Linked DNA regions of Homo sapiens: all the other regions are linked to region 7. The links are contacts of gene promoters, found by promoter capture Hi-C in blood cells and fetal thymus (Javierre and others, 2016). All regions are on one chromosome and are shown on one strand. The core of a region is centred on a gene start or on the middle of the fragment in contact, and the rest is flanking DNA. Distances in the headings are between cores, read along the strand shown. Region 1 overlaps TNS3 (tensin 3). Region 2 holds the start of LOC124901628 (a long non-coding RNA gene). Region 3 holds the start of LOC124901629 (a long non-coding RNA gene). Region 4 overlaps TNS3 (tensin 3). Region 5 has its middle 6.3 kb from the start of PKD1L1. Region 6 overlaps PKD1L1 (polycystin 1 like 1, transient receptor potential channel interacting). Region 7 holds the start of LINC02902 (long intergenic non-protein coding RNA 2902).

Evidence for each region. Contacts are between HindIII fragments. The CHiCAGO score rates a contact against its expected background, and 5 or more counts as called.
Region 1: a fragment that was not itself captured here is called in contact with the fragment with the promoter of LINC02902 in region 7 in 2 of 17 cell types (total B cells and naive B cells); the score reaches 10.4 in total B cells.
Region 2: a contact is called between a fragment that was not itself captured here and the fragment with the promoter of LINC02902 in region 7, in 3 of 17 cell types (total B cells, naive B cells and erythroblasts). The highest score is 17.4, in total B cells.
Region 3: a contact is called between a fragment that was not itself captured here and the fragment with the promoter of LINC02902 in region 7, in 4 of 17 cell types (total B cells, naive B cells, M0 macrophages and 1 more). The highest score is 10.7, in total B cells.
Region 4: a fragment that was not itself captured here is called in contact with the fragment with the promoter of LINC02902 in region 7 in 3 of 17 cell types (total B cells, naive B cells and fetal thymus); the score reaches 12.9 in total B cells.
Region 5: a fragment that was not itself captured here is called in contact with the fragment with the promoter of LINC02902 in region 7 in 1 of 17 cell types (total B cells); the score reaches 6.2 in total B cells.
Region 6: a fragment that was not itself captured here is called in contact with the fragment with the promoter of LINC02902 in region 7 in 3 of 17 cell types (total B cells, naive B cells and M1 macrophages); the score reaches 8.9 in total B cells.

Annotation. Positions count from the first base shown.
Region 1 is chr7:47,281,026-47,284,299 of GRCh38, reverse strand. TNS3 (tensin 3) reads left to right here. Exons shown (of 31, transcript NM_022748.12): 28 at 435-603. Among named protein-coding and RNA genes, the nearest start is that of SNORD151, 180 kb to the left of the region's middle. The HindIII fragment of the contact is 9,538 bases long and covers 1-3,274 here.
Region 2 is chr7:47,253,067-47,255,997 of GRCh38, reverse strand. LOC124901628 (a long non-coding RNA gene) reads left to right here and starts at 1,384. Exons shown (of 2, transcript XR_007060318.1): 1 at 1,384-1,607; 2 at 2,219-2,931. RefSeq lists a silencer at 1,323-1,502. The HindIII fragment of the contact is 6,901 bases long and covers 1-2,931 here.
Region 3 is chr7:47,358,891-47,362,117 of GRCh38, reverse strand. The region is part of intron 17 of TNS3 (tensin 3); the gene reads left to right. LOC124901629 (a long non-coding RNA gene) reads left to right here and starts at 913. Exons shown (of 2, transcript XR_007060319.1): 1 at 913-3,227. The HindIII fragment of the contact is 1,625 bases long and covers 438-2,062 here.
Region 4 is chr7:47,317,258-47,320,533 of GRCh38, reverse strand. All of the region lies in intron 20 of TNS3 (tensin 3), which reads left to right. Among named protein-coding and RNA genes, the nearest start is that of SNORD151, 150 kb to the left of the region's middle. The HindIII fragment of the contact is 192 bases long and covers 1,745-1,936 here.
Region 5 is chr7:47,953,168-47,956,412 of GRCh38, reverse strand. It overlaps a transcript of PKD1L1 not described here. Among named protein-coding and RNA genes, the nearest start is that of PKD1L1, 6.3 kb to the right of the region's middle. The HindIII fragment of the contact is 1,607 bases long and covers 465-2,071 here.
Region 6 is chr7:47,910,818-47,913,771 of GRCh38, reverse strand. All of the region lies in intron 8 of PKD1L1 (polycystin 1 like 1, transient receptor potential channel interacting), which reads left to right. Among named protein-coding and RNA genes, the nearest start is that of PKD1L1, 36 kb to the left of the region's middle. The HindIII fragment of the contact is 1,845 bases long and covers 549-2,393 here.
Region 7 is chr7:47,653,289-47,656,509 of GRCh38, reverse strand. It overlaps LINC02902 (long intergenic non-protein coding RNA 2902), which reads right to left and starts at 1,266. Exons shown (of 3, transcript NR_171030.1): 1 at 1,162-1,266. The HindIII fragment of the contact is 4,908 bases long and covers 1-3,221 here.

The DNA.
Region 1 (3,274 bases), core at 12-2,511, 370 kb after region 7:
AAGGGCCTCTGGGCTCCTTACCTATAACAGTAGTTGGGTTTCATATTAATGTGACTGTTGTCCATACCCACCCTGAGACCAGAGAAGGTGCCTTGGGCTCCACCTGGGACACGAGGGTTTAATACTGCTGCAGGGCGAATAGAAAGCTCCCTCTGGCTGGTGGGAAGGCAAAGCCACACCAGGCGGGTCTGCTTTGCTCTAGTAACTCGCTTATTCTCTGCCTTGACATGGGAGTAAGTGCATCCTTGGAGCACTCACTGTTCATGTTTTCAGAATTAGGGGCAAAGGCCATCTGCCTTACATGCACCCAGCATAGGCCACATGCGCAAGTTGTTCATAAACCCAGTCTGCACATCAGCAACTGCCTGTGTGTTAACAGGACACACCTGTCCCAATAGTTGCAACTAACATGTGTCTCCCTTGGTGTCTTCCAGCCTGCAATGTGTGGTACTTGAACTCTGTGGAGATGGAGTCCCTCACCGGCCACCAGGCGATCCAGAAGGCCCTGAGCATCACCCTGGTCCAGGAGCCTCCACCTGTGTCCACAGTTGTGCACTTCAAGGTGTCAGCCCAGGGCATCACCCTGACAGACAATCAGAGGAAGTGAGTGCCTAGAGGGAGGCAGGAGCCGTCCAGCAGGGGCGGGGCTGTCACGTTCCTCTTGTTCTTCCCTAGTGTGAGTAGTCATCCAGGTAAATCATTAGCCGTCTTTGAGGTCATGAGTCACCCAGGGTCTGTCTAGGTATTTTTCTGTCATTAAATACGTCCTGGGAACCACATAGGAACTCTTAGCATTTGTTTGCAAGGCTATTTTTCTTAGAAATCAGTAAAATAAAATAAAAAAAGACGTTTGGCGTTTTAAAATTACACACATACACACATAATTGCAAATGCAAAAAATCTTTTAACTCAGTTCCTTAAAAACACTCTGATACTATGATCAGAGTCCAATGATCTTGGAACCTATTGTTTTAACAGAGGGTCATTTCCTTTCAGGTGAGCGTATGACCTTGATATGTACTATTTCCGTTGGCCAATTTCAAATGACTTACGCCTGAGCTGTTACTGAGCCAGTTATGCTGGAGCAGATGTTCTCCATGTGGATCTTTACTGAATGCCCAGCATAAGCATGGAACAGAGCAGCCACAGGGCTGTTCCTGTCTCCCTCCCTCCAGAATGCCATCCCTGAGTGCAGCCTGTGGCCTAGGAACAGAGCATTTCAGATGCAATTATTTTGTATTGTGTGGTTGAGGAGGCACGTTGGCATCAACCGTGGCAGCAGCATGATGGCAGCAGCCATCACAGCAGACAGGCCGGCAGGGGACACTCAGACCAGCCTGGCTGCTTTCCCAGGATGCTCCCCGAGCAGGGCCCCCATGCCTCTCTGTGGTGCCCATGTCCCTAGAAGCAAGACATTTTCTTCATCTGCCCAAACCACCTGGGAGGTTGAAGGCAGGATCTTCCCCTCTGTAGCTTCAGGAATAAGTGAGTTTAGGCAGGTTTAGCTCATCACCCTTCATCTGCTGAAAAAAATGAGCACAAAGCAGAACGTGGGTTTTGCTGGTCAGACCCGTTCAGTGCCCCTGACACTGACCAGTAGATGACCCTGGGCAGGGTCCCAATGCTTGATGCTCTCGTATTTCAATCCTGCACCAAAATACCTATTTCAAGGTTTAGTGTCTCAAATGAAAAGGGCACTCAGCAAGTGCCCTGTGTGGCACACGCAGGGACAGGGTCAGGGTTGTGGCTCAACCCCACCATGTTCTCAGGGTCAGGGGCATGGCTCAGCCCCACTGTGTTCTCAGGGTCAGGGTCACAGGCAAGGCTCAGTTTCACGGTGGACTCAGGGTCAGGGACATAGCTCAGCTGTATGGTGGACTCATGGTCAGGTTCAGGGGGCATAGCTTTGCTGTTTGGTGGACTCAGGGTCAGAGTCAGGGTTGTGCCTTGGCTTTATGGTAGACTCAGGGTCGGGGCATGGCTCATCTGCATGGTAGACTCAGGGTCAGGGGCATGGCTCAGCTGCATGGCTCACCCAGGGTCCCAGTTGGGTATGGCTCAGCTGCATGGTGGACTCAGGGTCAGTGTCAGGCATAGCTCAGTTACATGGTGGACACAGGGTCAGGGGCATGGCTCGGCTACATGGCTCACTCAGGGTTCCCGTTGGGTGTGGCTCAGCTGCACGGTGGACTCAGAGTCAGTGTCAGGGGCATAGCGGAGCTACATGGTGGACTTAGGGTTTGGGATATGGATCATCTACCTGGTGGGCTCAGGGTCAGGCTCAGGGCATGGCCAGGCTGCTTGGTGGACTCAGGCTTACAGTCAGGAGTATGGCTAGACTGCCTAGTGGACTCAGGGTCAGGGTCAGGGTCAGGGGCATGGCTAGGCTGCATGGTGGACTCAGGGTCTGGAGGCATAGCTTGGCGACATGGTAGACTCAGGGTCAGGGTTGGGCTCCTTAAGGACCCTCACAATGTTGACTGTTCCCTCCTCCCTGCTGCCCTTGGAAGATATGTTATTTCTTCACAGGATCTGTTCTATGTGCCCTTGTCAGAGTTGTCTTTTTTCTGTGTCTCTTTAGTTTCCCTGTATTCTTTATATTCCCTGGAGATGGGTCATGTCCACATCAGTTCAGATCTTTCATACTGTAAGAGATAGCGTTTGAGTTCAGACTGGCTAATTCTAGACAAAAGGGGGATCTTCTCACCAACAATCAGCCTTAAAAGGCACCTGTTTGAGAGGGGCTGCAGGTGGCTGCAGGGTCACCTTGAATTGAAGCACACCCAGGCTCTGCCTCTGCCCTAGCCTATCTCCTGGCCTCTCTCTTCATCTCCAGATGAGCTTTACTCTGTGCCGGTGCAGAGTCATTCCCAGAAGGAGAGGGGTGACCCCAAAGCCAGCTAGACTGGCCCAGCCTGGACACAGCAGAGTGTTGAGTTGGGCATCCTCTGGGGACCATGTGGACTGGGTGGATAGCACTCTTGGAAGGAAGGGCTGGGCAGGTGAGCCGGAGGAGAATGCCCCAGGTGGTCATGTCAGTGACTAAGGGCTGTCAGGTGAGCCTGGAAGGAGGTCTCTATGGGGGTCGTATCAGTGACCATGTGGAGTCCTTCCTTAAGGAATATTCCTTGCACAGCACTTTATTGTTCACTCAGTGCTCTCAGACCTGTGACTGCATCTGACTTGGGCATCTGTCCTGTGGAAGGGGTGGGCTGGTAACATGATCCACTTTTCACAGGTGAGGAAACCAAGGCTCGGAGCCTGGAGGCTGTTA
Region 2 (2,931 bases), core at 15-2,514, 400 kb after region 7:
CAGAAGCAGCATATTCCTCACAGATCCCAGAGAGAAGAAGGCAGAATACCTCACATGGCTAGCGGAATGGAGGGAGCTGCCTGGGGCACACACACACACAACCACTGGGTGGGGATCGAGAGAGAGGAGGACCTGTAAGCTGAGGCCTTAAGTGGGGTCCAGGGGTCTACCCCAGGCAGGTTTCCCATAGGGAGTTCTAATTGATGGGTTTAGAGCAAGCAGGCACCGGTTCCATGTAATCACGCCATGACTGAGAGGTGGTCATTGCAGCATATCTGTGAGGTCCATGTGGGGTCAGTGGGGTGAGTCAAGTAGGTTGTATCCAGCTGTCTCGTAGGGCAGTGGTCACCAGGAGGTGTTTGTATAAGGCAGATGTCTGGATTGATCACATTGAGGAACTGGAAGGAGGTGGAGAGCTGGAAACTGTGTTAAGGGTGAGTAAGCCCTGCCTCTGGTAGGAAAAAGTTAAACCTCTGTTGGGAATGGTAACATGGAATTATAAGAGTTCACTACAAGCTGCATCCTAGGCCTTTCTCCTACTCTCACTGCCACAGAAACCCAGTGGTTCCGGGTTAGTGGGTCCGCATGTTGGTGCATGTTCGTGTGTGTGCGTGCATGCGTGTGTTTGTGCATGCATGTGCACATATGTGTGTCTGAGGTCTTTCTTTTCACCCTTAAACCCCAACAGGCTAGTGACAGGTTGTGGGCCCAGGGCAGCAGGGGCCACTGATCTTCAGGGGCCTCATGGCTCAAATGACATAGCAGGGCCCAGGCAGGGTTATGGTTGGAGAGACACCTGGGGACCCAGGGACGGCCCTGTGGCCCAGGCAGGGATGTGGCAGGAACCTCTAACAGAGCCTGCACCTGACAAGGACCAGAGAGTGGTAGCCTTGAAGTCACACCTGCCTCGATTTAATGAACAAGTGGGCAGTTTGCACAACTGGCCTGGCTGTTTCCAGTTAGCGTCGGCTCCCAGGGACTGGCACAGGCTCAGTCGGCTCAGCATATTGTCTATGGGCGATTTTCCATCTTGCTCACAAAACCAGGAACATTTACTATCTGGCCTTTTCCAGAAAAAAGTTTGCGGGTTCCCGGGCCATGCTCTCATTATTGTTGGCGTTATGAGGAAATGCAGATACAGCAGCAGAAGGAAGATCTGAGAGAAGAAGACAACAGGGTCACTGAAGTTGTGTTAAAGTGGTGCAGCACATTTGCCCTCTTTTTTTTTTGTACTTTCAAGACTGGCCACAATGCTGAATTTCAACGAAAGCACCCATAAGGAAGCCTGCCTTTTGATGTGCTCAGCCTGCGAGGGTCGGGAGGAAGAGAGGGGCCTGCCGCCTCGCGCCCTGCCCGCGCGCCCTCTGTGGGTGCCGCTGGTCCCGGTGTGGCCGGCAGGGGGCGCGCGCGCCATTCCCGGGCTCGCCGGGCGGGGCGGGGGCGCTTCCGAAGCTGAGCCGAGGACGCCGTGTTCCGCCGGTCCGGAGCGCCGCTACTCCGCGACCTGAGCCTGGCTCAGCAGCTCTGCCAGGCGTGCTTCCGCGCAGGGTGGCCGGACGTTCTGGGGAAGTTGCCCCGGGCCCAGCACAACGCCTGCGGGGGAGGGGGTGAGCGGCTCCAGCAAGGGACCCAGGGGCGGGGCTCAGGGAGACGGGGAGGGAGAATGGAATAGATAGGAACCGTCGAGATCTCGCAGGGGGGCCCACAGGCCACCCCCAGGGTCGCCTCCGCCCCCGCTGCCCTGCGGGCTACCGGCTCCAGTGGCGGGCCAGGACAGGGCAGCGCGAAGAGGAAACGCGCCCCGGCGCTAGGCCCCCCTCCCAAGGAAGGGGTCAAGCGGGCTCTGCCCTGCCCTACTAGTGTGACTGCTGGCTTCTGGGGGCTCAGCTCCCCGACTGTAGAGGAAGAGCTAGAAAAGCGATTCCCGAGAAGGGGAATCATTGTAAGCAGTTACTGCACTGTAAAGTGGCAGAGGGCTTGCTTGGTAGCGGAGAATCAATCGGGTTACTCTTCCTTCCTCACGGGAAGGGCATTTGTAAATTCCGCGTTGCAGAGACAGCCGGTGCTGGCCAGTTGCCTGGCAAGCGTGTGCTCACGCACACATCAGCTGCATCCATGAGGGAGATGATCCTATCTTAGCGTGGCAGGGCCAGAAAGGGGCTGAGAGTCTGGGCCCAGTACTGCTGGACTGTGCAGCCTTCGCTCTGTTCTCCTTCAGTGATGACTCACTCTCTCCTGAAAGAAGACCACACTGCCCCGGAGACACAGGAGGCCTTCTGACCTGGCCCGGTTGCCCTTCCTGGAGATGCCCCTCCTTCCCCAGAAGGCAGGCTCAGCTCATGGATGGTGCAGTCAGTAAGGGGAACTCAGTGCTGCCCAGGTCCCAGTCCACTGTGGACACCTGCATGATCTGACACTTCCCCATGAGGACTTTTGAGAAGCCAGATGACTTGTTTGAATTATCCAGTTCAGCTCCTGAGCCTCCTCTGCAAGATCCTACCAAGCAAACTTGGGGTGTTTCCCCTGCTCCCCTATTTCTGGTATTAACACCTTCCCCAGAACACCAGACTATTCCTGTTATGACGAGTAAAGACCTCTTAGTATTGTAACTTAAGGGGGTCACACCATGGCAACATTCTATTTTTTTCCTTTTTGTGTACTAGCTAGAATTACTCTATTTATTTACTTCAGGCATTTACTTGTTGTAATTATCTGATTTTGTGTCCCTGAAATAGTTTTTGCAGAAAAATCAGGATAAATTATTGATTCTGCCCCTTTTATTTTTTATAGTTTTTAGAAGGGGTTTATTTTTTATAATCCAAATGTGCCCAAGTAAGGTTTGTTTGTTGAGAAGTGCCTTTCCAAACCCCTCAATTTTTATTTTATTTATATTTATTTATTTATTTATTTATTCATTTTGAGACAGAGTCT
Region 3 (3,227 bases), core at 1-2,500, 290 kb after region 7:
TGCTGCTGCCAGGCTCATTGTCCCCGCCCCACTCTGGGTCTCAGCCTGGTTTCAGCCTGCACGTGGTGGGTTTTTTGTATCATACCCTTTTAAGTGGGAGAATATTTCAACTGATGATATCCCAGTAACAAAAGAAATGACTCAACCTGTGAAATTCATGATTCCGTGGGTGGCAAAAAGCCAGTTCTGTGGTTTTTTTTCATACCTTGAGGGCTCTTTGCTTCATGTTGTCAAAATATTTTATTCATGTTACATCAACCTCCACCCTGTGATGACAGCAACCTGGCAGGCCCTGTTCTGCTTGCAGATAGTGCTGTGGCATTCCCACCAGGCATTTAATGTCCCTCCCAGACTCGGCATCTGCTCTGTTAGTGCTAACCCATGGCTGATAACCTGTGCATCCTAAAGAAAGTTCAGAGCAATGGAAACTGTAAGCTTTTAATAATTGACCATGGAGAGCCCGTTGATTTAAATTGTGTGCTAAACCCCAACCAAAGGAACCAAATGTGAAAGCTGGAAGAGCGCTTTAGGATTCAGAAAGCAGCTTATCTGCAAGCTCTGATTCCGTGGCAGAAGGCTCACAGCCTCACAAAGTGGAGACAGGCAGACAGTCCCACCTCATTTCAACTCCAGAGTTGGGGAACGTGCTGGGGGTGCTCAGCCAGAGCCTCTCAGCCAGGCCTTGTGAGGCAGAGGGATCCTTACCAGGCAGATGGTCTGGAGGAGAGGCAGACCGGGAGAAAGCATAGTGTGCCAGGGAAGTTCAGTGCTGGGGAGTGAGGCTGGAGATGCAGATAGGCCCCACCATGGAGGGCCAGGATGGGGGCCAAGGAGTGTGGCTCTTCCCTGAGGGCAGAGGCGAGCCTTGGGGTCTTGGGCTGGGCCCTTGCTTGTTTTTTTTTTTTTTTTTTGGCATGGTTACTGTCTTACCAGAAGAGAAGGCACTGAGAAGGTGCACTGAGCCTGGGAGCTCTATTAGGGTCCCAGAGACAATGGAGGATAGCATTTAGGCAGGATGGGGGTTCCATGGGGTGGCATTGGCCTCCAACTCTGCAGAGGAAGAATCTCAGGAGGGAGGGAGGGAAGTAAGCAAGTGGGCCCCAGCGCCTGCGCCCGTAGCAGCTGGACATTGGAAGAATGAAGGGGCCTTGAATTTGGCTATTAGTGATCTGGGTATGGGGGTTTCAGATCCGTGCTAGGGACACAGGGGATCCATGGTACTTTCTAAAAGTCCAGGTGTCGTTATTTCCGTACTGTGTGTTATAACTGAGCAGTGCCCAGTTATGGGCATCATCCTGCCAGTGCCGGGCCCTCAGAGCATGGGGGAAGACAGCAGCGTGCGCATCTGAGGTGGAGGATGGAGGAGTGACCGCAGCACCAGGCATAGACACTCCTGGAGCCCTCCAAGGACTCAGGCGTCAGCAAGAGACCAGGGCTGATGGCAGCACCTCTGCCTTTTGGGGGCTGTCTCTGGATGGTCTCAGTCAGCCCAGGGTCACCTTTATTCTGAGATGCTTCCCTTGGCCACCACCCCCTCCAGGGAGCTGAGTGAGGTCCTAGGACCCAGGTCTTATAAAGGGACTTCCTGGTACTCACATCAGAGAACCAGGATAGAGGAGGTCTGGGAGCCAAGGAGCCAGGGCCCCGGGCGCTGGACATGCGTCCGTGAGGGACTCTTGCTCTTTGTTTGCTACCACTGGCAAAACAAGGCTTTTTCTCCATCTGTGAGCTTCAGTCTCTGGAGGTTTCTGAGAGAGATGGGATATTTATGTGCCTTGAGAACTCTGAAAAGAGACTCCTGCCCAGGGGTCAGGACTAGACACAGCTCCTCTCCACCTTCAGACCCCGATGCTTTAGGGCCGTGGGTATGAACAGGTCATGTGTATGTGAGTGCACATTTAATAACCGAGTCAGCCCACTGCACTGCAGGGAGCTCTGTGGGTGTCCAATTCGGAAAACGTTTTAGAATGAGAAACTCCAGTCTGCTTGGGGAAACTGCCATTGCAATTACTTTCTTTTTATTGCATAAAACCAACTTTGAAATTTTAGAGTTGATGAAGCTTTCCATTTGCCCCAGATACTCTCACTCTGCAAAGCAGGGGGCCTTGGTTTCCCACCCTACCACCTTGGTGGGCGCTCTGAAGACACTGCTGAGAGGCTAGGGCCACAGAGGAGAAGGTGCTATCTGGGCCTTCTGGGACTTTGAGGTGTGGATTCCAGCCCACCTTCTGCTCAGTCCACACTGCCCGTGATAGCTACATCAAGGGACCTTCACTGGTTCAGGCCCAAAATGAAGTATCGTTTCTATAACAGATACCTTCTAGCGCCATCTTTACTCTTCTGAGATGAAAGTCATAGCGAATATAACCTCCTTAAGCACATACTGAAAACTAAATTTAACACCCTAACACTCATGTCAAAGGAAAAATAAAAAGAAAGTAATTCACAATAAAGTCATATGAATTTTGAGATGAAAATCTTTGGTCCGGCCCACAGTAGAAAACAGAAATCATCCCTCAGGTTTAAAAAATACTCATTAATTTTTTATTGTGGTGAAATACATGTAACATAAAATTTAGCATTTTAATCATTTTTAAGTGTACTGTTCAGTGGTAGTAAGGACATTTGCATTGCTGTGCAACCATCATGACTATCTAGTTTCAGAAATTTGTCGTCATCCCAAAGGGAAACCTTATACCCCCTGAAGTCACTTCCTGTCCACACCTCCCTGCCAAACCCCTGGCACTCACTCATCCCCTCCTGTCCCTGGGGATGTGCCTACTGTGGACATTTTACATAAATGGCATCACAAAGTATGTGCTTTTTGTGGCTGGCTCCTGTGACGTGGTGTGTGATGTTTTCGAGCCGGACGTGTTACAGCCCATGTGGGAACTTCAGTACTGCTCCTGGCAGAGTAATATTCCACAGCTGGGATAGAGCACAGTTTGTTTATTCATTCCTCTCTCGATGGAGACTTGGGTTGTTCCCACCTTTGGCCTCGGTGAATGGTGATGCTGTGATCATGGGTGTGCCTGTGTTTGTCTGAACACCTGCTTTCAGTTGTTTGGGGCGTTACCCAGGAGAGGGGTTGCTAGGTCCTGTGGCACCTCTGTAACTTGCTGGGGAACTTCCCCACTGATGCTTGAAAGTCATTTGGTATCACCAGGTCTCTGGGGTGTTTCATTTGTCCCCAGAAGCTCTGCCTAAGCTGCACTGGGAGTGGGCTG
Region 4 (3,276 bases), core at 591-3,090, 340 kb after region 7:
CAGCCCTGCCAATGCCTTGATCTTGGACTTCCAGCTGCTAGACTGGGAGGGGATACATTTCTGTTGGTTCAGTCACTGTGTGGTATTTTTTATAGCAGCCCAAGCTGACTAATACTCCCAACTCGTGGAATACCAGGATTCCTCTTAACTCACAGAGCTGTGGACAGAGTGAAAAGGAAAAGGAATGAGGTTCGTGCTAATGAGCTAGAGGTGGGAAACCCAAGAATCATGTTTGAGTCCTGCTCCAGCTGGGTGGTGCGTGTGTTTCCCTCCAGGTGCAGGTGAGGGGAAGTGCTGAAGCCTCGGCCTCCTCACAGGTATAGATGGACGAGAGTGCACACCTTTAAGAGTTGTTCTGAGGGTCAAGTAAGCCCACTGAGCACCGCGCAGATAGTCACTATTAGTAAAATAGTGATAATTTATAAAGATAACTTATGTTTTCTGAACAAAGATAAAATGCATTCTGAGTCTCTGTTTATATTTACTGCAATGAGAGTACATCTTTTTGTTAACTGAGTGAAGGGTTTAAGTGAAGCTGAGGTTTCGAATTCTTACCTAACACAGGATTCCCAGTGTTGCATTCCTCATTGCTCACAGGACGCTTTAGAAATACTGGGTGAAGATGGCAACGCCTGGTTAGGGACCTGGTTAGAGTCTGACCAGTGATATTCTCTCAAAAGCAGCAGTCTTCCAGTTTCTGAAACTACATGAGAAACCCCCATTAGCTGCCTGTGGTCCCTGGCACATGGGCTGGTGGGCATAAGGGATGCAGATGCCCCGAGTGCCACAGGGGTTCTTAGACAGGCAGGTCCTTTAAGGGTGTCTTTGATTCTATTCAGGTCCATTGAAATCTGCCACATAGAATAAGGTTTTCAAGTCATGGTAAGAGACTTCTGAGATTACAGGGGAGGTTTCTCCCCCTGGGCCTTATGTGATTTAGACTTCCATGGTGCAGTCATTGATACAGTTTGGATATTTGTCCCCTCCATGGGGGCAGATACTTCATGAAGGGCTTGGTGCTGTCCTCATGGTAACGAGTGAGTTCTCACTGTTAGTTCACACGAGAACTGATTGTCAAAAAGAGCCTGGCACCTCCCCTCCTCTCTCTCTCTCTCTCTGTCTCTCTCTCTATCACTCTCTCACTCTCTCTCTCTCGCCTTCCTCTCACCATGTGATGCCAGCTTCCTTTCACAAGTCCAGTGGGAGTGGAGGTAGACAGGAATGCACTGGCATGGGGTGGTTAGGCCAGGGTGAGGGTGTGCAGAGTGCACATCAATGGAAGCTTCCTGAGGCCCTCACCAGGTGCAGATGCTTTTTCTACAGCCTTCAGAACCGTGAGCCAAATAAACCTCTTTTTAAAATAAATTGCCCAGCCTCGGTTGTTCCTATATAGCGGTGCACATGGACTCAGACAGTGGTTGTAGGACAAAATGATGATCCTGGACCAGGACTCCTCGGGACTTCAGCTGTTGAGCCACCAGGCTAAAGTGACCTTTCCTTAGAAGGGCTGTGGCAAAGTTCAGCACATGTCATCTGTGTCCCATGTGCCGTTTCTAAAGGAAAGCCAGATTCTCTGGGAATTCTGCCTGAAAACAGAAAACATCAAGACTTCCTGTCCTGTGGACAAGTCCAGTTATGAGACTGGAATTATTCTGCGGACTAAAGACTTGGAACCAAGCATCTTAGGTACAGCCTCTTCATTGGCATAGACCCTCGCCGGTATCATCTTGAGCTGCCTGAAGCTTTCTCTGACCGCTGTCCACTCCTGTGTGGACGTGGTGTATACATTATGGTAACCTCCATTCTCCATCATGATAATCAGCCCAGGGCTCTCAAAGCCTCTTATGCAGGTTCTCTCTCTGCTTGTGAAGGGCAATACTTCCTCTGTTTGTGGGTTTTTGTTTTTGTTTTGTTTTGGCTCAGCATAAGGAAAGCTTCCCTGAGGAGGGTCAGATGGCTCTTTTCTTTTCTGGTGCTGCTTTGCATACCCTCACCCTGGCCTGACTGCCCTGTGCTGGTGCATTCCTGTCTGTTTGCACTCCCACTGGACTGGAAGCAGCTTTGAGGCAAGGACATTGTGTCACTGAGTCTGTTTCCTGTTGCAAGTAACCAGTCCCAACTCAAACTGGCTAAAGGAACAAGAGAGGAGAAAATGTAACTGTTCGCAAAGTCAAAGGGTGAAAGCTATCGAGTGTCCAGGGACAGCTGAATGGATAAACAAAATGTGATCTATGCATGCAGTGGAATATTACTCAGCCTTAAAAAGGAAGGACGTTCTGACACGCACTACAACATGGAAGAACTTCAGGGACATTGTGTTCAGTGAAGTAAGTCAGTCACAAGAAGACAAATTCTGTATGATTCCACTTACATGAGGTCCCTAGAGTCATTGAATTCATACATACAGAAAGTGGGATGGTGGGGACTTGGGTGGAGGATAGGAAATTATTTCAATGGGGAAAGAGTTATAGTTTTGTAAGATTATAAAGTTCTGGAGATAGTTGGTGTACGAAAAAGTGAATGTACTTGATGCTACAGCACTGTACACTTAAAAATGGCTAAGATGGTAAATTTTGTTATGTATGTCTTATCACAATTTGAGAAAAATAACGAAACTCACTGAGCAGCTGTGGGTGGCTGTGGCCTCAGATTTGGCTTCATGAGGACTCCTTGGCCACTCAGCGGGTGGGTCTCTCTCTCTGTCTCTCTCACACATTTATTTCCAGTGACTCCCTAGACCCTGATCTTCTCAGCTGTGTGTTGGCTCTGTCTGCAGGCTTGATGTGGTCTCTAGGCAGCCTCAGTAGCTCCACTTCAGTGTCATCTTTCTTTAAAGTCTAGAAGGAAGGAAGTCATTTGTTTTCTTGAGAACTCAAACCAAAGCACATTTTTTTACAACTCTCATCCCTTGTAGGTTGCTAAGGGACTATGTGAGTCCCTGGAGGAACTGGCCTCACTTAGTGCATCCCAAGTGTAAAAACTGCTTGGGAAACACTCACTATGAAGAAAAACGCTGTTTTCACTGTTTCAACATTAGAATTCTCTACACAACACCAACTAAACTGGTAAATGTGTTTTCTTTCCAGTCTGATCAAAACCTTGAATATAAATGGGACATCTTCAAAGAATAAGAGAAAATAGGGCTCCAACTGTAATGAACTATTGCATCTACATTTTCTACTTCCTTTTGTGTTATTGCTTAAAAGGAAGACTGTGGCATGGTCTCTTTTGAAGGGGATAATTCCAATTGTGATGAGAATGTCATAAAAGGGTCAC
Region 5 (3,245 bases), core at 19-2,518, 300 kb before region 7:
CCATTCTTTGTTTCTAATTTACACCTAGCAGGCTAACCCTGCTGGCACCTGCAGTGCTTCCAGGGGGAAAGGACCATAGTGTGCCCCTGTGAAGAGTCTCAGAATGGTGCGGAAGGTGAATGCCCACCTCCCGCTCTCTTTTCCCACTGTAGAAACTGATTCCAGAGAAATTCTCCAAGTGCGGTGCTATGTGGGCTTGCGGGAGAGGTGTTATGATCAAACAGAACCATTCTCTTTACCCTCTGTTCATGGTTTTTCTTGGCTCTGTGGTCCAGTGAGTTGTCACAGCTTCACTCCCAATTTCTGGGATATTCAGGGCAATAATCTTGCCACTGGGTATTTGCTAGTTGAAATTATGTGGTAGGGAGAGAAGCCAGTAAGCTTCACTTCTCCGTTTGGCTGATGTCACTCTCGAATTCTGTACTTTCATACGGATTGTAATAGGGAGGGTCTAAAAGGAAGCTTCAGTTTTGGATTTTTAGAGCTTCTTCTAAGTACAATTGTTGAATCAAGAGGTAAAAATGGTATGTTATAACTGGAAATACGCTGAGATTAAAAAGGAGATAAATTAGCCCCATTGGGACAGTGCTATTGGGAATGTGAATTGATACCACTTTCCTGGAGTCTAGTTTAGTATTTATTTTATATGTAATGCCTGAAAAGATGTGTGTCTCCTTTGACTCAATACTTATAGGAATTTACACAAAGGTTATAATCAAAGATTATAGAACTGTTATACTGGAAAAACACGAAATATTCTAATTATGAATTAATTGGGGATTGGTTAAATAAACTATGGTTTGATATGCTCTAAAAATAATGTTACAGAAAAAAGTGTACTGATATGGCAAAATGTATGACTTATAGTTAAAAAAGCAGGTTAGATGTTGATAGATACAGTATGATAGAAAAAGATCAGGAAGGTATATGCTGACATTTAAATCTGGATATTTATGAGTGTTTTTTTTATTTCAATCTTTGTACATGCATGTATTTTCTAGAAATTGTATTACTATCTTTGTAATAAAGTAAATTATTTTTAAGGGACTAAATAATAAATATTTGTTACTTGAGTGCCTTACACATTCACTCGGCAATTACAGTTTCCCGAACATTGGACTTCAGACTCTTTTCACAGCACATCCTTATTTTCATAAATAGAAAATTAAACTTTTTATTTGTCATTTTGATGTTATGCCAGGTTTAGAATACTGGAGTCTCGATCAATAAGGTGGCACCACATTGCAGAATCATCTCTTTTTACCATGGGCCCAACATGGATGAGGATCAATCAGTGTCTGTAACAGTCTTTGCAGTGAGGGCAGAGTGACCAGTTATTAAGTTGTAGGCTAAAAGATCCTGGGAGAGACCAGCCACGCACAGGACTTCACAAATCACTGGACAGTAAGGAAGATGACCCTGTGGGTAGCACGAGAAAATGTAGCCGCCTTCCTGGAATCTAGTTCCTATTCGCCTGTAGCACCAAATGAACCAATCTTACAACCATAACCAGCATATGTAGCTTGGAAAGATGCTGAATTCCACACCCTAAGATCTGGGAATGGATTTTGGCTCTTTCCAGCGTCCTAGTCTGGGGCAAGTCATTCAGCCTCTTGAGACAGTTTCTCTAACAGTGACTAAACATGCTGACCACCTGTGGTGGTTGGAATAAGAGAAAATAGCATTACTCATTGGCAGGTTTCTAAATTGGGAAGCGTAAAATGTGAGCATTTATAAGCGGTCTTAGTCTGTGTTGTGTGGCTATAGCTGATTCCCACAGACTGAGTCATTTATAAAGAAAAGAGTAATTACAGTTTTAGGGGCTGGGGTGTCCAAAGTAAGGTAAGGGGATGCATCTGGTGAAGGCCTCCTTGCTGTATTGTCCCCTGGCAGAAGGGCACAAGGCAGAAGTGGGTGCAGGAGACAGAAAGGAGGCAAGAGGGGCAGACCATCTTTGATAACAACTCATTCTCCTGGTAACAGCATTAAGCCATCATGAGAGCAGAGTCCTTGTGACTTCATCACTTCTCATCAGGCTCTGCCTCCCAACACCACTGCAGAGGACCAAGCTTCTAACTTATGAATTTAGGGGACACACTTAAACCATAACATAAGCCTTACCAAACAAAACAAGCAAAAATTGGCTTTTTTCTCAGTGAAAATACGCTGCTAACCAGAGGCTGCCAGTTCACGGCAGCACACAGTGCAGACTGGGTGACTTCCATGGCTCTTCCGAGGCTCATAGAGGTTTGGTTGGCGTGTCTTAGCGCACCATGACATCATCCAGTGACCTTAGGGCTCAAACCTTGTGACCAGACAGCCCTGTGTTTCTAACCTCAAGCTATTTAAAAATTTAAAGGAGGCTACATATATACACTAACCACTTTTTACCATACTAGTTTCAATTTAAAATTATCTTTTTGGTTATCTTCCTTGCTGAGAGAAAATTCTAGTGAAGCCTTCTGGGGGAGGATCCTCCCCTTACAGGGGAAGAAAAACATGACCAGACAGAAGTGAGAACCAGAACAGAGTGGAGGGCATCTACCTTGTGTTTTTGTCTTTTCTCTGTTCACTTCTTTCACTGTTTGCAAATAAACCCTGCCAAGGAGGCAGAGCACATAAGGGGCCCTCGTGAGGGAAGTGCTTGATGGGATGCTGGACTTCCTCATTAACACTTCACCTAGTTCAAATTTGGCCTTCCCACAGCAGCTCCTACCTGGGGCTTTACCAGTTTTTGGAGCATGCAGTCTTAAATCTAGAAAGAAATGCCCAGTGTGATTCTTAGATGTTTGGTGGCTTAACCTGTCCCAAATGACAGGTGGGCCTCCCTTCACACTGGACAGGTCTGAAATAACCAAGAGAAACAGTGGTGCTCCAACTCAGCTCCATGGGGAAGCTGAGAGGGACCATGGGACTTGTCCTGGGTCTGCCTTGGCATGTACCATCATACGATCTGGGCTCACATAAGTAGCAGTCCTTTCCTAAGAGGATTCTATTCATACTTCATGAAATACCAGTTGTCTATATCAAATAATCAGTGTGGAGAAACCACTCCAGACGAAAGGACACCTTGATGGAAACAAGGTGGGCAGGTGAGGGTGAGGAAGCTGAGATGATACGGATAATTGTATACTACTCAAAATAAGTGCTTGAGGGCCTAAAACATTACCCCATGTAATACATGTGTTATGCTTTTCTTAACAATTGCATTGGAACAAGATAAATGCAGAGGTGGTTATGGCAAT
Region 6 (2,954 bases), core at 222-2,721, 260 kb before region 7:
TAATTTATAAAGAAAAGAGATTTAATTGGCTCACAGTTCTGCAGACTGTATAGGAAACATTGATGTGGGCATCTGCTCAGCTTCCGGGGAAGCCTCAGGAAACTTACAATCATGGCAGAAAGCGAACAGGGAACACACACGTTACATAGCCGGAGTAGGAGCAAGAGGGGGGGAGGTGCCACACACTTTTAAAAGACCAGATCTCATGAGAACTCACTATCATGAGGACAGTACCAAGTGGCAGGGATTGGGGGTGACACTAAACCATTCATGAGAAATCTGCCACCATCATCCAATCACCACCCACCTCCTCACCGCCAGTGCTGAAGGCCCAACCTTCAATACTGGGGAATGCAATTCGACATGAGATTTGGTGGGGGCACAGATCCAAATCATATCAACCTGCTTTCCCACATTAGTCTTAGTTCCGGTTCTAGAGCTAATATATTCGGTCCTCACTCAGCTTTTTTTTGGCATGGTGTTCCTGTTTGGTTGTCTGAAGTTTGTCCTCTAGTAGATTTTTTTTAGGAAAATTCATGCAATAAGCTTCCTCTAAGTTCCCATATTCAAAACTGTTGCTGCCATTATGTTGGAACGACAGTGTGCTGGCTCTGGACTCCTTGGACACATGTTCTTTTCCTGGGGAATCTGGTTGTCTTTCCATTCTGTTCTCTCCTGTAACCATGGTTCTCCAAGTTTGGCCCAGCAGCATCATGACCACCTGAGACTGGCTTAGAATACAGACTCTCAGGCCCACTGCAGACCTACTGAATCAGAAATTCAGCTGGTGGCCCTGACACTCTGTCTGAAGAAGCCTCCCTGAAATTCTCCATTCTGTCTTTCTTACCTTGTGGTGATTCCAAAGTCAGCCTTCTTTTTTCCCCGTCATTGATTAATGTTTTTCTGTGATTGTCATGAGAATTATTTCTTTTCTTTTTTTTTTTTTTTTTTTTTTTGAGACACAGTCTCACTCTGTTGCCCAGGCTGGAGTACAGTGGCATGATCTCGGCTCACTGCAACCTCCATCTCCTGGGTTCAAGTGATTCTCATGCCTCAGCCTCCCAGGTAGCTAGGATTACAGGCATACACCACCACGCCTGGCTGATTTTTGTATTTTTAGTAGAGATGGCATTTCACCATGAAGGCCAGGCCAGGCTCAAACTCCTGACCTCAAGCGATCCACCCGCCTCAGCCTCCCAAAGTGCTAGGATCACAGGTCTGAGCCACCGTGCCCAGCCGGTAGTTATTTCTTTATTTGCAACTCCAGCAGCTTTGCCAGCACGTGTCTAAGTGCTGGCCACTCTGGGTCACCTTTCTCCAGCACATGGTGTACCTTTTCAATGTGTCCTTTGTTTCAGGAAAGATTTCTTGAATTAGATCTTTACATTGTTTCTATTCCAATATGTCAGCTTTCTTTTTGGGAGACTGGCATACATCTATTAGTTCTCTTTTGTCTTTTCAAATCTTTTTTGTTTTTCCTTTTTCATCTGATCCGCTTTCCTCATATTTTCCTCTGCATCCCTTCTTTTGTGTTCTACACTTTCCATTCTCCATTATACTCTAAAATGTTGACTTTGTTTCCTTCCAAGACCAGATGCTCTCTGGTCTTCCATCTCAGAAGATAACGATTCCTCAAGTTGTTCAGTCCTGTTCTTGTGGACAGTGTTTTTCTGATAAATTATCTTAATCTATTATGAGTATTTCCTGAATTTTCCCTCTTGACTCTTATAGTATCTTGTACATGCTGAATGGTCTTTTCTCCCTCCTTTTCTCCCTTTATCCTTCCCTCCCTTCTTCTTTCCTGCCTTCCTTCCTTTCTTCCTTCCTTTCTTTTTTTTTTTTTCTTCACAGCATTACTCATAATTTAAAGAGTTGCATTTTTTTCTGAACTAACTGCTGGTGGAGTGTGTGTGTGTGTGTTGCGTACACACATGTATGCGTGTTGATGATATTCACAGCCACTGAGCCCTTTGGCAACTGAGTTCTCACTTTAGGACGTTTTCTGTTTTCTTCCTTCAATACGGTTCCTGCTCATGCATGCTTGATATTTGCCGCTTTTAGCAGTTTTTGCGTCTATTTTGTATTCTGAACATGCTAGCTACCTCCTAGTTTCACTAAACAAAGAGAGAAAAAGTTTTTATTTTTATTCACTGTTTTCCTTTTTGTTTTTGGATTAACTCCTAGAAGATTAAGTAGAAGGCTAAGTATATCTCTATTTCACATCAGGACTTGCTCTATTATAATAATTTTAAGCATCTGCAACTTTGATACATATTCATTGGTTTCTTTTGTTGTTTTATGAATAAAGTAAGGAATTGGTATTTGTATTAGGCCATTCTCCAATTGCTATAAAGAAATACTTCAAACTAGGTAACTTATAAAGAAAAGAAGCTTAATTGGCTCACGGTTCTGCAGGTTTTACAGTAAGCACGGGTGCCGACATTTGCTTAGCTTCTGGGGAGGCTTCAGGAAGTTTACAATCATGGTAGAAGGCTACAGGGCAGCAGGCACAGCACACAGTAAAAGCAGAAATGAGAGAGAGTGAGATGCCACACACTTTTAAATAGCCAGATTTCAAGAGAAGTCACTCACTATCGCAAGGACACCACCAAAGGATGGTACTAAACCATTCATGAGGAATCCACTCCCATCATCCAGTCACCTCCCGCCAAGCTCTACCTCCAACTTTGGGTATTACAATTCGACACATTAGATTAGGGAGAGGTAAACATCCGAACTATATCAGTATTACATCTTTTATCAGGGGTTAAGTCTAAAGTCAACTTGAGGCTAGGTGCAGTGGTTCATGCCTGTAATCCCAGCACTTTGGGAGGCTGAGGTGGATCACCTGAGGTCAGGAGTTCGAGACCAGCTTGGCCAACATGGTGAAATCCTGTCTCTACTAAAAATACACACACACACACACACACACACACACACACACAAAATCAGCT
Region 7 (3,221 bases), core at 17-2,516:
GCAGTCCCTGAAGGCCCACTCCTGGACAGAAATCTCCGTGTTTCTCTTTGTTCTGGTCTTGACTGAATCTAAACAAGTGAAAGGCAGTTCTTGAGCCTGTGTAACCCCCTAACCTGGCCCAAGTTCCAAACACACCTGGATCTTCGCCTTTTTCATCTGTTAATTGTGGCCAATAAAAATACCTTCCTTGGCCGGACGCGGTGGCTCACGCCTGTAATCCCGGCACTTTGGGAGGCCGAGGCGGGCGGATCATGAGGTCAGGAGATCGAGACCATCCTGGCTAACACGATGAAACCCCATCTCTACTAAAAATACAAAAAATTAGCCGGGCGTGGTGGTGGGCACCTGTAGTCCCAGCTACTCGGGAGGCTGAGGCAGGAGAATGGTGTGAACCCGGGAGGCGGAGGTTGCAGTGAGCCGAGATCGCGCCGCTGCACTCCAGCCTGGGCTACAGAGCGAGACTCCGTCTCAAAAGAAAAAAAAAAACTTCCTCCCAGGTTTTAGTCGTTTTTTCCCCGGCACCCCTGCTTGCCACGTGGTAAATGTTCAATACAACTAATATCAATAATGACTCAAGTTTATTGATTACCACCTCTCTCTTTCCTCCATGGAGTGCTTACTGGGAGGATGGAGTCTCTTGGGGTGCGTGGCTTTCCCATACATCAGCATCAGCCATCGCGAGACCCCACGGGCCAGCAGTGTGGACGGGGAGACAAGTGAGGCCTCCCAGCCAGAACAGCTCAGCCTGCCAGGAGAAGCAGAAACCCCCCAAAGTAATCACTTCTCGAGTGCCTTCGAGACCCCAGATGTTGGGAAAACAACTATTTTCCCTTGTGTAAGACATGGCCAGTTTCTTTCCATCTCCTAAACAAATCAAATACAACCCTGAGCCCTCCTCCTTCCAGCCTGGCAGAAAATCCAGCCTTGACATTCTGTGGACTCTCTCTGCCCCACAGGGAGTTACCAAAGCCCTGGGAGCTTTTTCAAATTTTGATGGATAGCAAACATTTTAAAAAAAGACAAAAAATCAAATTATCATGAAGTGGACACGCCCATGTAACCACTTCCCAGGTCCAGAAAGAACAACAGTCATCCAGGACCACCCCCACATCCCTCCCAGCATCCACACCTCCCAGGCCCCACAAAGACCACTGTCCTGACCGCTGCCTCCCTCCCTGGGGCCCGGCCAGAGCCGTCTTCCTTCTGTTGACTCTGTTGGTGCCATCCTCATCCCACTGCCCGGGTGACTCGTCTGCCAAATGCAAGAATCGAATGGGGAGAGGAGTCTAGCGTACCCCCTGAACCCTGAGCCCCAAAGCAGGAGTTTTAGCCACATAGCTTTGGGTTTTCCCAGGATCCCTCGGGTGCCTGGGGCGCAGGATGCCAGGGTATAGGAGCTCTGCTCTCATGACGGGTGAATCCCCTGGTTCTCCTGTAAGTGCAGAGATGCTAGGGTAGTTCCCACACTCAAATATTCCCCGAGCCAGGGCTGGGCGCCTGTGGGAATCCCAGCAATCCTACAGTTTCACTGAAGTCCTATAATTTCCCGTACCCTGCCTCTATTTCAGGGACCTGCTGCTCAGAATGTGGAAATGCAGATGTGGTTTGCTTGTGTTGCCATTGTTCTCGTGAGCTGTAAGGCAGTGATTACAGGCTCCGTGGGCGGCAGGGAGCAGCCAACTGGATTGACGGCACATTCTTAGCTTATTTTAAAATCAGTAACAGCATTAATAAAAATCCTGTGCCTTCCCATTTACTTTTTCTTCCAAAAGAAAAAATACTGTACTTCCTAGCAGTCTGTGGCTGGAGTGGGAAGAAAGGAGAAATCATTTGAAAGTGTGAGGAATATCAGAGGAAATTTTAGAAAGGACCCTAGGCCATCTCTAGCTTTCTCATAGCAGTGACCCTGTTCCTCCCCCCAGATTGGGACACTTTAATTTTTTTTTTTTTTTTCAAGACAAAGGAGTCTCGCTCTGTTGCCCAGGCTGGAGTACAGTGGTGTGATCTCGGCTCATTGCAACCTCCACCTCCCAGGTTCAAGCAATTCTTGTGTCTCAGCCTCCTGAGTAGCTGGGATTACAGGTGTGTGCCAGGACACCCAGCTAAGTTTTTGGTATTTTTAGTAGAGAAAGGGTTTCACTGTGTTGGCCAGCCTGGTCTCGAACCTGTAACTTCAAGTGGTCAGCCCACCTCGGCCTACCAAAGTGCTGGGATTACATGCGTGAGCCACCGGCCCGGATGATTCACTTCTTAATAAATCATCCAACCCAATGATTTGGTTCCAAAAGAAACAGATAACATTCAAACACTGTTTCCTCTAGTTCATACTGTAAGACAATGTATTTTAGATACATTTTGCTTGAAATCCACAAACTTGTCAAATACCCACCTGGGTAGAGGAGGACAGCAGAACTGAAGGGCAAGAGGGCTCAGCCAGACTTCCCTCCCCGAGCTCCCGGGAGAAGGTTAATCACTTCGATCTAAACCAGGCAGGGCAGAGACCTAGGAGGCAGGAAGTCAGTTTAAAGGATGTGACATTGGCATTTGCCCAGCGGGTGATGGGAGAGGGAGGTTGAGGTCGTAACACTTCATTTTCATTCTGCATCTTACAAAGACTCCGACCTCTGAGCTAAACTGACTTGGGCCAGCTCCCACCTAGTGAACCTCAGCTCCTCCTCCTCAAGTGAGGCTGTCACCTTGCAGGTAAGCAGAGAGTTTGTGAGTCTAAAAGGAGAGAAACTCTAGGAGAGGAAAGGCTCTGTAGCCATGGGCCTGGAGGAGCCTGAGGCTCTATTTGTGGAATGAGTGTGTTAGAGGAACTGGGGGTCTGGACCAGATAAGAAAGTCCCCAGCTTTAGGCAGTACATGTGTCCAGTAGAGGCAGCAGACAGACTTGCTGGCCAGAGGGGCTGAAGCCATCATTCGGGCCCCAAGGCCAGAGGGTCCAAGGCACATGATAGAGATGGCCGGCGTGACTGAGAGGCATGAAGTTGGAAATAAAAAATAAATTATGGAATCAGAGAGAAGTATGGGTTGTTTTCCATGGACTATGCCTGATATTCTTGTTCAATTTAACCTGATTTAGAACTGGTTCAGTTTTATCATTTTATTTGTACAAACTTATGGAGTACAAGTGTAACTTTGTTACATAGATATATTGTTGTATTAGTCTGTTTTCACACTGCTATAAAGATACCACACAAGATTGGGTAATTAAAAAA